Linked DNA regions of Homo sapiens: region 2 is linked to region 1. The links are contacts of gene promoters, found by promoter capture Hi-C in blood cells and fetal thymus (Javierre and others, 2016). All regions are on one chromosome and are shown on one strand. The core of a region is centred on a gene start or on the middle of the fragment in contact, and the rest is flanking DNA. Distances in the headings are between cores, read along the strand shown. Region 1 holds the start of MTERF1 (mitochondrial transcription termination factor 1). Region 2 holds the start of BET1 (Bet1 golgi vesicular membrane trafficking protein).

Region 1 (2,700 bases), core at 22-2,521:
GACACTTATTTCTGAAAGATTATTAGAGGCTATGTACTACTTCTGAAATACTGGGACTTTATTTAATGAATATGTGTTACTTTGCAGTCAGATGAAAAAATTTAAACAAGTAAAACTGGCCTTTGGTGTGAAAAACAATGGAAAATACAAATTATCTTTATCTATTTTTCGGTTTCTAGTACCAAAAAAGTCACACTTCAAAATTCTCCATGATGCTTTACTCTTAGCAACGGATCTCCATTCAAAATACTCATAATATCTAGTAGGGTAAATGAACATCTAAATAGCCTAATACAAGAAAGTTAGCAACTTTCCTCACGTACAAATTTCAAAAATGGTACCTATTCAAAAATTGACTTCGATCTATTTCTCAAATTGACTTTTTAATTAACCAAAACCATTATCCAAAGGGCTAATGTTCAAACTTAACAAACACTGAAAATTTCTATGCTTGTAGTATGAGGGGTCTAAAAAAAGATTTACGTTCGCCTCTGCCCCACAACTGGCCTGTTAAAAAGGCTGTTAATGGAAATAACTAATCACTGGCCCTAAAATACCACATTCCAGCTGGTCTTCTTTTGATACAGCAAGCTAAGTTTGGAGATCTTTACATGCATTTCTCACCTTGTTTGTCCTAAGGAAAGGCTCTGCATCCCTCCAGAAAGGCTGGAGAACAGCTATCTCTGGAAATGACACACACACACAAAAAAAAGGCAAAATATTTCAGGCCTTCCTAATACAAAATAAGAGATCGATCCCAGCTAACGTTCTCGTTGCATTATGTTCTCGTGAGATGCATTACCTCTTGCAAACAACATTTCTCAGACATACAGAAAAGAAAACGGCAAGTACATGCCTACATATGATGGGAAAAGGTAGCGGAATCACGAATACGTTTTGTACCAAAGCTAAGTGCTTCATATATATTGTCTCGCTTTACTCCCCACAACAATTTAAAAGGTAGGCATAAGCCTTAAAATTACAAAATCTGAAACAGCGCCGAGCTCCCATACTAGCCTGCCTTCGCTAGCTGAAGCATTAGGGTTCGAACCCAGGTGGGTCTTTCTTAACTCAAAACCAAGGTAATTCCACACCGAAGGCTCTTTCCATCCCTCTTCCTCCTCCAAAGACAAATCTGCAAAGGGCTGCACTGTACAGCAGTCACCCACACCCACTTCTTAACAAAAAGAAAGGAAAGCACAGCCTCACCACCTTCCCAATCTCACCCTGAACTGCACCCATCCACTGTAGTTCGCTTTTACTTCCGCCTCTGGGGTCCGGAGCGGCTAGGAGGAGCGGAAGTGGAAAAGACTAACTTCCGGCCTCGGGTCGCGCGCAGAGGTGATGTCGTTGGTCCTGCGCCCCCTCGTGGCGGTACTTCAGCCCTTCGCAGCCCGACGCTAGGGGCCTGGCAGGGGGCAGCAAGAGACCGCGGTGAGCGCGGGGTATTGAACGCCAAAGAAGGGGTTTGGAGGGTGGGGTGGGGCCTGGGACTCCCAGTCGCCTGGGCAGATGTCCGTGGGGAACTGTAAGGCATCTTATAGGGATCCTACAGGGGGCATCCACTGCCGGCCGACGACACGTGGTGGAAAAGTAGCTATTATTTACATGCGTGTTGCAGTTTTTGATAATGCGATTGCTGCTGCTAATGTGACTAACGCGATGCCGATGAACATCTCGGCGTTTTTTGGTGCAGGATAAGCGGGTGTAGACTCTGTCTGTTTAGTCCCAGATTCTCCTCCTTTAATGAACTACCGTGGAAATCCTGGAGTGTCACTGCTGGTCTGAATTCAGCATCCGCCTTCAGGCTGGAAATCAATTCTAGTATACTTCGATTTCCTTACTTGCAGTTCGAATTCAAATATGATTCTTTTGACATTGTGAGGGTTTGCGCTATTTAAAGAATGGAGGCAACCGAAACCTCATCTCCACAGTGGATGCATTTTTGCTCCCTCCCGAGGCGTTGCCTTAAGCCACGCGGTCCTGTCAGCCTCACCTGCCTAGTGATGGTGACAATGGAAGAGATAAAGCTTCAATTCAAGGCACTTCTCCTGTGACCATCAAAAGAAAGATAATATCTACATTAATGAATTAATTGTGTCTGTCGAGTTATCCTCAGGAGACGATGGTGATTTGGTCCTTAAAAAAACACAGGATCAACAGGATTGACCCTGAATTCTACAAAGAGGAAAAATTTCAGGCATTACTAACTCCTCCATGTACAAGCCTAATGATGTAATTTTCTGGCCGGGCGCGATGGCTCATGCCTGTAATCCCAGCACTTTGGGAGGCCAAGGCGGGAGGATGGCTTGAGGCCAGGAGTTCGAGACCAGCCTGGCCAACATGGTGAAACCCCATCTCTACAAAAAGTACAAACATTAGCCAGGCGTGGTCACAGGTGCCTGTAGTCCCAGCTACTTGGGAGGCTAAGGTGGGAGAATCACCTGAGCCTGGGAGGTTGAGGCTGCAGTGAGCCGTGATTGTGCCACTACACTCTAGCCTGGGTGACACAGTGAACCTTGTCTCAAGAAAGAAAAAGAATTTTCTTTATCCCATTTCTTTCTCCTTTTTCTTTTTTTTTTTTTTTTTTCCTTTAGACGGAGTCTCACTCTGTTGCCAGGCTGGAGTGCAATGGCGCGATCTCGGCTCACTACAACCTCTGCCTCCCGGGTTCAAGCGATTCCCCTGCCTCAGCCTCCC
Region 2 (2,700 bases), core at 119-2,618, 2.1 Mb after region 1:
GTACTACAATTTATCTTTGCACATATTCCTACTCCCCACCTAGACTGGAAGCTTTGGGGATCACAAACAGGGCAACAAACAACTGTATACCTAGAGCTTACTCAAGCACACAATAAATCTTTTTTGGTATTAAGGATGATGAACAAGAAAAACATTTAGACATATAAAGCTAAACTTGCTCAAAATTATTTCTTTTTTTTTTCTCTTCAATTTACCTGGCCCCATTTTCTATGATCTAAGTATTCATAAAAACTTCATTAAAAAAACAAAAAACTTTCTCATACTACAATTTATTGATCAATAAACAAGTCTACGGTTATTGGCAACTTTCACTGACTTTAAATATCTGACACTTTGGGGATTTTTTTTTTCTTTTTTCAATCTTATAATGACTGAGAAAGGTAATATCTTTTTTCAAATGTTTCATTTATTTTCTGAAGTATACTGCACTCTAATTTAGCGGGGTCTTCTTTAAAAAAAAAATCGTGTCCTAAGAGAAAGCTTCAGAACCAGAAAATGCCGTTCTAGTAGCTGTGCGTTACTATAAGGGTCCATTAAAATTCCTTGTGTCTAACTTATTCTTGCTGATGAGCCAGTTTCCTAACCCCAAAGGTAAAGATCAAATGTTAAGTCGCCAAACCTTAACCACGTTCTACTGCCTTAACCGTGGCACAAGGTTCAGATTAAGAAATCGCCTTTGACCCAGAAGTTCCAGTTCCAGGACCTTTAACAATAATGACACATACATTTACCTTTGTAACTCACTGTTACCAGATTAACGACCATTACTAGCGTGCTTTGGGTGCAACCACCCACTCTTCAAATTCCGCTTCTGAAGAAACTAAGATCCAGGGCCAGTAGGGAAACAGAAACCGGAGTCGGGCTTTGGAAAACATAGCAGCGTCCATAACCACGCTCAGTCAATAACACTAAAACACTCGACCACTGAGATGCCACCTGTACACACCCACCCCTAGTCCACTACTTTCTCTAGCCTACCATCCAAACTTGAATCTGACTCAAACTTAAGGAAATTCCAAAGATCTGGGACAAATGGTGTGTTTCCACTCGACATGGACCCCAAAGATCCCCTCTAGACATCCTGTTTTTTGGACCAAATGCCAGGAACATAAGACAGGTTCGATTTCCTCCCGCGCCCCAGCGCTCCCGGTTCTAGGGCCCCGAACTTCGAACCTCAGCCCTCTTCTTACCCAGGCCTGCACGCCTCATCCTGCCAGAGGAGAGAGAGAAAAGGCGGGTGCGGGGCTTTGGGTGAGTAGGAAACAGCTAGGGGCGACCCGGACCGCGTCTTCAGTACCAGGGCCCAGCGAAACACCAACTTCTTCCCCTAAAGCGCCACGACATCAGTGGAGTCTAAACACCGCGCCGGATGATGGCGTCACCACGGCGCTCATTGGAGCCCTGGGAAGAAGGTTGAAAGGCATTCTGGGAAATGTAGTTCACCAACGCATAACGTGTTGCTGAGGGCGTGATGTGAACCCGGTTCCAGGAGCGGACGGGGCGTCCGGAAAAGGGGGCGGCTTCGACTGCGGCTCTGATTCTGGGTCTCTGATCCAACGTTCCCGCTGTTCCGCTCGCAGCCCGCGGGTCGCTGCTTTCAGTTTGTTGACCACCAAGTTTAACCCAGCAGATCTGCTCCTCCCCACCCACAAGAGGATGGTTGGGGTATCTTTCCTGATTTAGCCTCGAACTCCCTCTCACCTCCAGAGACGATTCAGGGAAAGTTAGAGAAAACTTTGTCCAGGTTTCTCAGTTTACAAACAAGTAATCCGACACCCACAGAAGTAACCGATTTGTGCCTTGTAGTATCCAGTAAAGGAAAGAAAACCAGGTTCCTTTGAGTAGGACTCCTGCTCAGATGAGAGCAGACTAGGAAAGGCTGCGGGATCTGGTCAGAGGCACTGAATAGTTAGTTCCCTGTTACTGCATCTGTTGTACTTCTAGAAAGAACCAAGACTTTTAGTTGTTATGGGGACCAAAGGACCCCTAAACGCTCTCCCACTTTTTTTTTTTTAACTTACACAAAGCTTATTGAAATACTGCTTACACAAGGCAGTGTGCCAATTAGGGGTTTAAAACTTGTTGGCGAGTTGGAGGTGTTACTGGTATCGAGGTTAATCCTAGAATTTCATTTTATCTCAGAGGATTTATCGTGAGAATACGATGAAATCGTGGTTTTTGAAGGGAAAACAAAAAAACCTGATACACAGTAGGTGATCAAAATTCACTGGGTGTCTGCGGTTTTGTTGTTGCTGCTGTATATATGGCAGTGGAATCGTCTCCACACTAGAGATTTCCGAATATGTGATCTTTGATCATTTAGCGTTTCCTCATAGTTTCCCAGGACATTATTAACATTGACTATAATACTGGCATAAGTCTCTGCGTTAAGTTGCTTTTGTAAAAAACACATGAAAACAATTTTTAATAAGAGTTATTAACCTGGGAAGGAGGCTTTATCCAATAGTGTTTTGATAGAAAAAAATCATTAAAATAAAACCGCCATTTTCTAAAAGCAATGAAATTAAATAAGCATAATATCAGGGACAATTATTACAAATAAAAGATGGAGATTCAATAAAAGAAATGATAGCTAGGTATCCCTTTATAACTTAAAATCTGTGACAGTCCTTTGGTTAAAAAAATGCATGTTCTATAATTAAAACGTTTAAAAATTGC

What was found. The method cuts DNA at HindIII sites, captures the fragments that hold promoters and counts their contacts. A CHiCAGO score of 5 or more calls a contact.
Region 2: the fragment with the promoter of BET1 here is called in contact with the fragment with the promoter of MTERF1 in region 1 in 4 of 17 cell types (total CD8 T cells, naive CD8 T cells, non-activated CD4 T cells and 1 more); the score reaches 9.7 in total CD8 T cells.

Annotation. Positions count from the first base shown.
Region 1 is chr7:91,879,431-91,882,130 of GRCh38, forward strand. It overlaps MTERF1 (mitochondrial transcription termination factor 1), which reads right to left and starts at 1,272. Exons shown (of 3, transcript NM_006980.5): 1 at 1,227-1,272; 2 at 625-683. The coding sequence starts at 653. It overlaps LOC112267986 (a long non-coding RNA gene), which reads left to right and starts at 1,372. Exons shown (of 2, transcript XR_002956514.2): 1 at 1,372-1,434. The HindIII fragment of the contact is 3,297 bases long and covers 1-2,028 here.
Region 2 is chr7:94,002,987-94,005,686 of GRCh38, forward strand. BET1 (Bet1 golgi vesicular membrane trafficking protein) reads right to left here and starts at 1,369. Exons shown (of 4, transcript NM_005868.6): 1 at 1,212-1,369. The coding sequence starts at 1,230. RefSeq lists enhancers at 579-1,185, 1,186-1,791, 1,246-1,295, 1,306-1,935. The HindIII fragment of the contact is 1,547 bases long and covers 500-2,046 here.